Regions from separate parts of the Homo sapiens genome. Here region 2 is linked to region 1. The links are contacts of gene promoters, found by promoter capture Hi-C in blood cells and fetal thymus (Javierre and others, 2016). All regions are on one chromosome and are shown on one strand. Each heading gives the region's core, a stretch centred on a gene start or on the middle of the fragment in contact. The rest is flanking DNA. Distances are from core to core; before and after follow the strand shown.

The links. Contacts are between HindIII fragments. The CHiCAGO score rates a contact against its expected background, and 5 or more counts as called.
Region 2: a contact is called between a fragment that was not itself captured here and the fragment with the promoter of TMEM19 in region 1, in 1 of 17 cell types (non-activated CD4 T cells). The highest score is 5.2, in non-activated CD4 T cells.

The regions. Positions count from the first base shown.
Region 1 is chr12:71,682,711-71,688,681 of GRCh38, forward strand. It overlaps TMEM19 (transmembrane protein 19), which reads left to right and starts at 3,372. Exons shown (of 6, transcript NM_018279.4): 1 at 3,372-4,100. The coding sequence starts at 3,971. It overlaps LOC124902965 (a long non-coding RNA gene), which reads right to left and starts at 3,354. Exons shown (of 2, transcript XR_007063367.1): 1 at 3,212-3,354. RefSeq lists silencers at 3,644-3,713, 3,704-3,919 and an enhancer at 5,268-5,337. The HindIII fragment of the contact is 11,589 bases long and covers 921-5,971 here.
Region 2 is chr12:69,576,441-69,582,411 of GRCh38, forward strand. It overlaps FRS2 (fibroblast growth factor receptor substrate 2), which reads left to right. Exons shown (of 9, transcript NM_001278356.2): 9 at 1-3,353. Among named protein-coding and RNA genes, the nearest start is that of MIR3913-2, 5.3 kb to the right of the region's middle. The HindIII fragment of the contact is 812 bases long and covers 2,908-3,719 here.

The DNA of each region.
Region 1 (5,971 bases), core at 2,122-4,621:
TTCTCCTTGAGTCCTGTTTATATATGACTTGGATAAAGTCATCATCTTTTTATAATGTAATTGTCTACATGTCCATTTTCATCTGCTATGCTCCTTCACCACACATACACATGTGGTGTATGTGTGTTGGCACTCAAATCACTCAAATATTCGCACATTTCAGAAAATCTAAACCAATCCCTTTGAATTAGATTCAAAGGGATTGTAAATAAAATCTGATAATTTCCTATCACACAGTAAGTGCTTTTTGACATTAGGATAATTTTTGTGATTGGTATTGAATATAAATGTCTATCATAGAAAAATCCAAACTTTATATCAAAGAGCACTTAACCATAAATGGGTATTTATATTGTGAAATTTAAAGATCAGCGCAACAATGAACTTTCAGTTTATTCTATGATTGCTATAGTAAGTCTCAAACTGCATGTTTTCTACAGGAAATAAATCTGATGAAGACAATTAACTGTTGGAACCATTTAAACAAATGTGTTTGTTTCTTAACTTCTTAGAGTCATTAATAATACACTCTAACTATCCCATGTAGAGACAACATTTCTCAACCTTAAATTTGATCACAGGTATCTTTTGAGTGGTAGGGATGCCTACTAATAACAAAGAATAACTACTATTAAGTTAAAAAATATAGTTTAGGAAATGCCTAACCAGAAATTTTCCATTGCCAGAAAATGGCTTCCAAAGTAAATAGAAAAACAAAGACTTTGTTGAAATTTTTAAGATTGATAGTCTATAAAAATTGTAACAGTAAAATCGTGATTTTTTAAAAGTATACAAGAGCCCCTCCCACTCCCTTTATCCTTGGAGATACATTCCAACACCCTCAGTGGATGTTTGAAACCCTGGAAAATACCAAACCCTATATATACTATTTTTTTCCAATTCCTATATACCTATGATAAAGCTTAATGTATAAATTAGGCACCGTAAGAGATTAGGAGGAATACCTAATAATAAAATAGAACAATTATAACAATATATTGTAATAGAACTAAAATAAGGGCACTGTGATACTGCAACAGTCCATCTGATAACTGCAATGGCTCCTAAGTGACTAACAAGAGAGTAATGTCTATTGCATGGATGGATATGCTAGATAAACGGAGGATTCACGTCCCAGGTGGGATGGAGCTGGATGGCATGAGATTTCATCATGCTACTTTGGCATGCAATTTAAAACTTATGAATATTTCTGGAATTTTCTTTTTAATATTTTCGGATTGTTACCGGTGGAAGGTGTCCAGGTTCTTGGTGTTTTGAACAAAGAACTGGAAAAACACACAAGCAAAGCAAGGAAAGAATGAAGCAACAAAAGCAGAGATTTACTGAAAACAAAAGTACGCGCCACAGGGTGGGAACCATCTGAGCATAGGGGCTCAAGGGCCTCCTTACAGAATTTTCTAGGGTTTAAATACCCTCTAGAGGTTTCCCATTGGTTACTTGGTGTACACCTTATGTAAATGTAAATGAAGTACTAGCCCACAATCAGTCTGATTGGTTGTGAAAAACAACCAATTAGAGGCTGAAGCAAAGTTACAAAGTTACACTCCTACGCAAACGTCTGATTGGTTGCAGAAAGCTACCAAGCAGAGATACTTTCAATTTTCTATCTGCCACGCAGAAAAAAAGAGGGGTTTGCAAAGGGCGTAGCTTTGGGTCCTTTTGTTACTTAGGTATGGGAAGTTGGGGTTTTCCTTTTGATTTAGCTCTAGGAAGTCAGCATGAATCGGCCTTAGGTTCCCTGCCTCAATAGGAGACCCTATTCTCCTGCCTCAAGATCATGTTTAACCCTTGGTAACTGAAACTGCCTATTGCATATAAGAACTACTGTATTTTAATTATATTAACTCCTCTAAATTATTTTGGTCTTAAGCTAGAATAACTTTTATGGAGAAAAACATCTATAATTGGTCACTGAAAAAAATAGAAGGGAAAATATTCATCTAAAGGGTCAGTTCACTGACACTACTATTTAATATGCATTTTTTAGCCAGATCTAATAGTCATGAGAAAATCATCCCTGACATCCAGGGACTGACCTGACACAGCTACACCACAGTGTTGGGAGATAGCTTGACATTCACAACTAGGCTATGATTTTCCTATCGAACACCAACTAATCAGAGAGGGTCACTCTGTGACTGTGGTGAAGCAAGGCAAAAAAAAGAAAAAAAAAAAAAAGACCAGTTTATAATTTTGTCTAAGCAGAGACAAAAACAATGCGACTGTGCAAACCACAAAACATTAGCTTTCATTATTAATAATTTTACCCAGTAGTCTGGTAACATTGATACTGGCCAGTCAGCTTGGTGAAATAATCCAAACATTTACCTATGCAGAACAGACTAAGACAAAAATAAAGTAGGCACATAATACATTTCAGCATAAAGACCATATATGTATATTATCTAGTACAGGAAGCCCACTACTATTTAGTCCTACTTCACAGATTTGATTCTTAGTTAACTACTTAATTAGATGTCTTACCAAAGAAAATGACAAGCTGTCTTGGCATGTATTTTGAAATTTAAAATAATGTGAGCTTTTTTAAAGTAACTACTCTTGGGGCTTAAAACACAATTGCATACTGTGTCTGAAATGGATTTGGCTCCTCTTCTTACACTGTCAGCAATTAACTGAAAAAATTGATAAATATTATGTAATTATCAGTTAATTACTGTTAACCCAGGCAAACAAGTTAATTTCACATAAAACATGAAATCAGGCCGGGCGCTGTAGCTCACGCCATTAAACCCAGCACTTTGGGAGGCCGAGGTGGGTGGATCCCCTGAGGTCAAGAGTTCGAGACCAGCCGGGCCAACATGGCAAAACCCCGTCTCTACTAAAAATATAAAAATTAGCCGGGCGTGGTTGTGGCGCCTGTAATCCCAGCTACTCCGGAGGCTGGAGCAGGAGAATCGCTTAGAACCTGGGAGGCGGTGGTTGCAGTGAGCAGAGATCGTGCCACTGCACTCCAGCCTGGGCGGCAGAGAGAGACACTGTCTCGAAAAAAAAAAAAAGAAAAGAAAAGAAATCAGCCACGATTCAGATTTTTAATGCTAACAAGACGTTTTGCTTTCTAAATGCACACACCTTTAATATAAGGGGTGTGAGGACAGATATTTCCACAATCTAAGTGGTGTTATGACAATAATTACGAGAGCTCAGTAATAGAAACTATGTTTAACTTTACCTCGCTAGCAGCCAGGAGTCTAGCACATTATAGGTACTAAACAATGTTGTTTAGTACCTATAATGTGGTTTTGGAGAAGCAGTGCAAACGCAGCCGGCCAGGATGCCAGCAGTGCCTGCCCACGTGAGCTAGGCGACATCCCCCTAAGCGGCTGCGGCGCATGCCCACAGCGGGCGAGGCGCTAGAGGCGGGGGCGCCGGGAGGCGCGGGCTTTGCTCCTGGGGTCTCGGCCTTGGCCGGCTGGACCTGACCCTAGGGCGGCTTGCGCAGCTGTCGGGACGTGACTGCGTTCAGCCGCGTCGGGCGTGCTTCCCAGACTTGCCCAAGTTCGGGTGCCCTAGCTGCCCCTTTGCAGCCGCTGGCCTACCCGGCCCGCGGGTGAGAAGGTTGCGACGGGAGGTGGGTGGAACTCGCCAGCGCCGGGACCGCGGATTGGCTGCCTCGGCTTTCTCTTTTCCCCGTGGGCTCCGGCGTGAGGCGCTGAAGCGGCCGGCAGCCGGCGACCGGCCCTCACCGTCCGCCGGGTTGCGCTCTGCTTTTGCGGTGAGGCGTTGACCACGCCCATATGAATTGGAGCTCTCCGCCAGTAGGAGTTTCCGGAAGGAGTTTGAATTTTTGTGATTTTTATGCTTGTTTGGTCGGTGGAATATGTTGGGATTTATGTTTGCCTCTGAACAAGTGTCTTGCTCACATCGTAAATGACTTTCTCTCCGAAACGCTAAATATTCTTTCCCGCAGGAGCTCATATCCTTATTTTCCATGACAGATCTTAACGACAATATATGCAAAAGATATATAAAGATGATAACTAATATAGTTATACTGAGCCTGATCATTTGCATTTCGTTAGCTTTCTGGATTATATCAATGACTGCAAGCACCTATTATGGTAAGTCTGAGTGTTCTAAGTTGTTTCTCTGTAATCTAGTCAGAGGAAATTAAAACCATACCATTGTGAAATCCAAAACTCATATCCTCTGAATGGTTATGAATGGTTGTGTTTACTTAACTTCCATAGCCTGATTTAACTTACTAACATGATAGTATAAACAATGCCTTTAATAAATGCTTGTTGTGATAATTCGAGTTATACCTATTTCTTTTTTTTTTTAATTTTTATTTTGTATAAGATAGGGGTCCCTCTGTGTTGCTAGGCTGGTCTCAAACCCCTAGGCTCAAGTGATCCTCCCACCTGTGTCTCCCAAAGTGCTGGCAATACAGGCCACCACTTCTGGACTAGTTACACCTATTTCAAAATGTCTTTATATTTTATGTAACTATTCCATCTGTCTTGGTAAAAGATAAGTGAGGCGAATATAGCTTTGTAAAGCAATTACAGTGATGCTTTTAATTTTGAATAAGAATATTAGTAATGGGCCAGGCGCGGTGGCTCACGCCTGTTATCCCAGCACTTTGGGAGGCCGAGGCGGGCAAATAACCTGAGGTCGGGAGTTCAAGACCAGCCTGGCCAACACGGTGAAACCCCAGCTCTACTAAAACTAGAAAAAAGCTGTAATCCCAGCTACTTGGGAGATGGAGGCAGGAGAATCACTTGAACCCTGGAGGCGGAGGTTGCAGTGAACCAAGATTGAGCCACTGCACTCCAGCCTGGGCCACAGAGCGAGAATCCGTCTCAAAAAAAAAAAAGTAGTAATGTAGTTTATCAGTTTCACATGTTCTGTAAAAATAATAAGAATTAAAAACGGTATACTATTTACATTTGGAGAGCTGAAGGACTTATCTGCCATTTGGTTGCTTCAAAAGAATAGACTCCTTTTAAAGCCTAAAGCTACATTGCTTAAATATAAGGTACTCTGGACTCAGATCTTTAAAGTTTTAAAGGTGCTTTAGAGCATAAGCCTCCATTTACACAAACTTCCTTCTCCTATGAAAACAAAATACTGGTCAGTTTGCAACAAAGGAAAAATGAAAAGGAGAATGAGAATGCTTGTATCGTAAGGGATTGCCATTTCAGACTGTAGGCTTTTTGCAAAGAGACATGTGAATAGTTGGAAAGGGTTCTCCAGGCTACAGAAGCTCTCAGTGCAGTTCGTTCATAATGATTCACAGTGGGGCATCAGAGTTTTAGGGGAGGGGTGTAAGAAAAGATTCTTGTTAGTGACAGTATTTACTATGACTTGAACTAAATGGAATAAATCAGGATTTGTAAACTGAAATATCCCTCTGGGGCCAGTCACCTAATGCAAATGAATCTGTGTACGTTTTTGTGTATTAGACCTGTGGTAATAGTTTTCATTTCCAGAAATAGGATATTTCTCATCTTTTGTTGAATGCTTGGGCCCTCTTTGTCTTTCATTTCCCCTTTATTTTTCTGAGACGGAGTTTCGCTCTTTTTGCCCAGGCTGGAGTACAGTGGCACGATCTCAGCTCACTGCAACCTCTGCCTTCTGGTTTCTCCTGCCTCAGCCTCCCAAGTAGCTGGGATTACAGGTGCCTGCCACCATGCCTGGCTAATTTTTGTATTTGTAGTAGAGACAGGGTTTCATCATGTTGGCCAGGCTGGGTCTCGAACTCCTGACCTCAGGATCCTCCTGCCTTGGCCTCCCAAAGTGCTGGGATTACAGGCATGAGCCACTGCGCCCGGCCCATTTTCTCATTTTTGATAGAAACATAGATACAAGCAGTGGTTCACAGTTTTCTTTACCATAAGGAAATCACTTTGCCTTGGCGTTTAGGAGCCTATCAGGAGGGGTGGGAACTTTAAATGGGAAAGCCACGGCCTGTTTAAAGGAGGGCACC
Region 2 (5,971 bases), core at 2,064-4,563, 2.1 Mb before region 1:
ATTTCCTAAACACTAGAGAATACGAGAGAAGGTAGAGTGGAAAAGGTTAGGTAACCTTGCAAAATATTTTACTATTTTCTCTAAATATGAGGAAGTTTGAGATTATGATCTGGATCTACCAGATATAACTAAGGTTAATTTAGCATGAAAAAGTTTTAGTCATATTGGCATCCAACCTATTCAGTAACCGAATCATAGGACAATGATGGATTAGGAGAACAATAGAGTGGGATCATTATAAAGAAAATAAATTATTAAAGGTGTCTTTATCGTTTTAGTGCCATTTTTAGTGTCTTTACTATAAATCAATATCAGTGTATTTTATCATTCTATGTGCATAGCAGAATTTTCTTTTCTCCCTTTTGTTCCCCTGTGAACTTGGTGCTTATTAAAGTGCTCACTGTTCTCTTAAAAGAGAGCAGTGGTATAGGTGTGCAGTTTCCATGATGCAGGTTCCATTTTTAATATATTGTTCCACTTATCCTTTCTTCTGAGTAAATTGCTAATTGTGCCAAATTTATGTAATAGTTTTTGTAATGTGGAATAAGAATTATGATGGAACCATTGCACATTTTTTTCTGAAACAGCCAGTCAAGGCAGAACATTAATCTCCAAATGCAAGGGCTGATCTATTTATTCATTTTGGAGGTTGGGTACTTTATTCTTTCTTTCCGTCATCCTTTTCATTGTTTCCCCCGGATTCTAATTAGTTTTTATTTTTTTTAGATAACTCCAATATAATCATTACAGTTTATGCTTTAAATACTATGTGCTTTAAAAAGGAAAATGGGACCAATTTGTCTGCTAAGAATTTGATTTTAGGTACTATAAGAGTATTAGGAAAATATATACAACTGGTGTTAATTTCTAGATATTTTCTAGAAATCACTTGTGTTCCTATTTAATAAAAGGTAATTTAGAATACTACTTGTCCTTTGCAGTAGTTTAGTAATGGGCATTAAGCTGTGTCCTCGAAGGATGTACCTATTACTAGGTGCATTTTAGAATGAAATATTGATATTTTATTAGCATATAATTGTGGCCATATATCTCAGATTTTCTGAGGCAGATCTAATTTTAGATAATTCTGTTGGTAGACCATGTGATCCTTCTTTTTGGTTTTGGAAATATAATCATTGTTAATGTTTTCCCTCCAAATAGAATACTGTTTTATCCATACAAATCATAACAGCATCTATCCCATGCTAGGGTTGGAAACTGATATTGGTATTACTTGTGTTTTTTCTTAGTGTGTTTTATTTCCCAGTTTCATCTTCTTCTAAAAATGAAAATATGGTGCCTTCCCTCCCTCCAGGAAGACTGGCAAATATTTCCTTTTATTTACTGCTGCTGTGGAGTGATGAGATATGCACTTTACTCTTTAAGATTCAGCAAAAAGCTTTTCACTTCTCAGTATATCCAGAATACATCATATCTGGGACTTAGGAAAATTTGCCAAGCAATCTTTGTTTTTATAGATACTAATGTTGACCCTCTCCAGCGTTCAATGTTATAAATAGAACAAGTCAAGCTAGTGTTTATCTCCTCCCCCTCCCCAAAACTGTGGCACAGCATATAAAAATGTACCTCAATAATGTTCTATTAAAAATGGGACAGGGGCCTTATGTTTTCATAATTTCCCAACAATGTGCCGCCATATTTTTGCCTCAAGGTAAAGGTTTTAACAGATGAAAAAGTACTTCCCAATTCCCCCGTGCTATTCCTAACCTATAATGCCCAAATGTTTTGTGCAATGTGTAGTGTGTGTGTATAAATACATATATTCTTGAAATAGACATACCATCAGAGACATCATTCACAAGTAACTGATGTATTGGCATCTCATTCATATTTCTGATGTGTGAGGTATATGGTACTAATTACCTTTTCCTTGATGTTTGCCAAATTTGAATAAAGGCATTGGTACGAAATTACAGAATGTAAAGAAAATGTTTTTGGCTTGAAAAATTAACATATTTTATGACGTACCACAGTATACTCTGCCCAAACCAGCACCCTATCTATCTTTCCTGTTCTTTACATCCCTGTTCCCCATCCCTACTTCCTCATTTTTGGTATAACACAGTTCTTTTGTAGCATCATTATAATTGCAGTTCTATGGCAATTGGACAGTTATAGCATGGAAACAGACTGGTATAAGTAGTACAGTAGTCACCAGTGTGCCACATTTGCATTAGTAATGCAAAATATACATTTTATAAAGGACAAACTTTGTGTTATGTTTTATTTTCATTACATTGTATAATATTGTAAGACTATTGTATGTCCTAATTTGCATTATAAATGTTTTTTTCCTACGTAAAGGCATAAATATAGCAACTTTGTATAAAGGTAGCTTATTAGATTTTTAATTTTTTCTTTTATAAAAAATTGTCCAACAGTGGGACTACCATTGCCAAATTGTATATGAAATATGAATTTTACCCCCATGGTTAATTTCTTTTATAAACATTCCATATTTCTCTAATAAAAAGACATAAGTGATACTGTACTATGCATACATTGTATCTTAATGCTGTTTCAGATCAGCATTTTAAATTTTGGTTTGCATTTTTAATATTGGCAAAACGTAACCACTGTTAATTAAAATAAAACCTTGTTGTATATGTAACAACATAATTTTCCCTCTATCCCTTCCCACCCTTTGTTCTCTATTTCTCCCTATCAGTGCCAACTTCATACATTTTGTAGCATGGCAATAAAATATAACTTTTACACTGAGGCCGAGTGTGGCTTTTTGGAGGAAGTGGGGATGGGACGATTGCCCTCTAGTTGTCCTTTGCATATGACTGTTTTTTGCCATATAAGCCATGTCATCAGGCATGAAAAGTTTTCTCATATATGATGTAAACTTGCTTTTAAGGACAAGTGTGAATGTGCTTTTTAAGCTTAATTTTTGTCATGACAACTAATTTTTTTTATCTTTGGAGAAGTCAGAGTTCTTTACAATCAAACGTTTATTAACTGGAGTACTTAGAATAAGCTAGTAATTGAATTTAGTTCAAGGGCTAAGCAACACATTTTTAAATCCTTATTTATTGTAGAGTATTAGTATACTGTCCTACAAATTATGTAAAATATGGTTTAATATTAGATGACTTTGGATTTTGCAATGCCTTACTGTTGTCATTCTAGCATAAATATCCATAATGAGGTACTCAAGTTGATACTGGAAGCTGAGCTGATCATACACTGACCTGAAGCATTCATGAAAAGCTGCTTTATTGAATAAAGTCTGATTGGAGTTCTTTTCATGCTCACTTTCCCCTTATTGCTGAAAGTAGATTGCAATAAAACCCCAATAAAACGTTTGGTCGGATATCTACTTAAAAGTTTTATTGTATTTATATTTCACATACTACTTGAAACTTTGTGACATTTTCTTTCCTAGTCTCATATCACTGCCTCCATTTTCAAAATGAAGATATCAAAATGAAATTGTAACTATATGACAGGCTTTCTCACAGTTTTAGCTGTGTGATCATTCCAAATAGTAGTTCTCAGCTCTGGGACTTCAAACCTGTTTTTAGCCACTGAGTGACATTGCAAAGCCTTAGTTGAGTACAGGTCAAGATGGAAATTATTTAAACAATGAAGGAGATGGACATGTCCACAAGTGATTGATGTAACTGGCATGATAAAGACACACACAAAGGAAGGGCATCCAACTCAGCCTAGGGGTGGAGGTTTTCAAGCAAAGCTTCTTAGAGGGGGTGATCCCTGAGGTGGTTTGTTGAAAGTCTTTGTAGCTTAGAGAGGATGTCTTAGGGAGAAGGGATAGCATGTGCAAAGGCACAGAGGTATAGAAAGATCATGACATTCAGTGGTTGCAAGAGGTTCCAAATGACTAAGCGCATGGAGAGCAAAGGCAGGGTTGGGGGATACAGAAGAAAGGAGAAATGAGAAACAGATCACAGAATCCTAAGGAGCTTTTGTTTAAATTAGGTGAGAGAACTTGAAGGATTTTAAACACCAGAAAAATAATAGTTTAGAAAGATTTCTCTGACAACATGGATACGTGAAGGGCGCAGTATTTTTTTTTTTTTTTTTTTTTTTTTTTTTGAGACGGAGTCTCTCCCTGTTGCCCAGGCTGGATGGAGTGCAGTGGCGCCATCTCGGCTCACTGCAAGCTCCCCCTCCCAGGTTCATGCCATTCTCCTGGCTCTGCCTCCCAAGTAGCTGGCCCTACGGTATTTTAATAAAGCAGGGAGACTGGTTGAGAGGCTTTTTCAGAAATGGAGCCAGATCTGATAAATCCGTATTCAAAGGCATTGTTAAAGGACTGTTTAGATTGTTTACTGCTGTGCAACAAACCACCCTAAAAGTTAGTGGCTTAAAGCAGCAATCATTTAATGTCTCAAGTTGCTATAGATCGAGATGGGCAGGGCACAGCAGAGATGGCTCATCTCACATGATGTCTGGAGGCCTGGCTTCCTCATATGCTTTGTGCCTATGCTAGTATGATTCAAGCAGCTGAGGGCTGGCTGGACCAGTTCCACTAGGTTATGTCTGGAACTTAAAGCTCTCAGCTGTGTTCCTTAGTTTTCTTCCATGAAGTCTTGGGTCTTTCTTCATGTGGTCTTCTTACATGGCAGCTTAGGGTTCCCAAGAGCACAAAAGTAGATGCTGCTAGGCTTTCTTGAGGCCTAAGCCCAGAACTGGCACAATGTCAATTCTGTTGTATTTTGTTGAATTACAGTGGCTCATATAAAAGCATGAACATCAAAAGTGTAGTTTATTCAGGGCCACCAATGTAATAGAGGGCCTAAAGGAGGAAGAATTAACACCTCTGATTGATAAGGGGAATGACAGAAATGGAGGGGTCAAGGATGACCCCCAGTTATCTGGTTTGGGTGACTGAGATGGTTGATGGTGTCAGTTCATTGAGATTTAAGATATATTTGGGGGCTGGGCATGGTGGCTCATGCCCGTAATCCCAGCACTTTGGGAGGCTGTGGAGGGTGGATCACTTCAGCCCAGAAGTTTGAGACCAGCCTGGGCAACATGGTGAAAACCTGTTTCTATGAAAAAATACAAAAATCAACTGGCGTGGTGGTGTGTGCTTGTAGTCCCAGCTACTCAAGAGACTGAGGCAGGAGGATAGATTAAGCCTGGGAGGTTGAGGCTGCAATGAACTGTGATCCTGCCACTGTGGTCCAGCCTGGGCAACATAATGAGACCCTGTTTTTTTTTTTTTTAAAGTGCTCCTCTAAGTGTGCTCCACAGACTGATTCCTGTGTACAAACTATCACGGTCTGCAACAGGAGAAATATCAAGTCTTCTAACCTTCTCCCTACTACCCAAACAGTAGGTGTCTGGGTGGACCCAACTTAATGTGACTGTGGACTCCTGGTCCTTTATTTGGTTTCCTTCCCCAGGTATTCTAACTGTTCCTGAGGAATGTTGACAAGTCCCATAACTCTGTTCTGGTGGTTGTTTGCCACTTCGCCAGTTATTTCACTCCAGTTAATGAATCTACCCTTGCTCCCAAATCACCTCTAGCCATCAAATAATGATATGCTACAGTGCTTTCCTACTTCCATAACATGCCAAGCATATCCAACCTCGGCTACTATATTTATAAAGCCTATTAGAAGACTTGGGATATAATGATAACAATAGCTAAGCTAAACAGGCACTGTTCTAAGCTATTTAATCTGTGATAATTATCTCCATTTTACACAAAGGGAAATTGAGGCACAGAGAGATTATATAACTGGAAGCTGACCAGTTAACAAAAAGCCAATTCACTGAAAGCCAAATTATACCAAGGGGAAGAGAGAGGAGGACACAGGGTCATAGAGAGGAGAGGGTCACAAAGACTTTGAGGGAGGAGGAAGGGTTAACTAAGAGAAGCCAAGACCAAGGGACTTGAGAGTAGAGGACAGAAGATGAGCCAGGAGAAAGTCACACAACGTGTTTAATCACAGAAACATGGATTCCCAAGGTC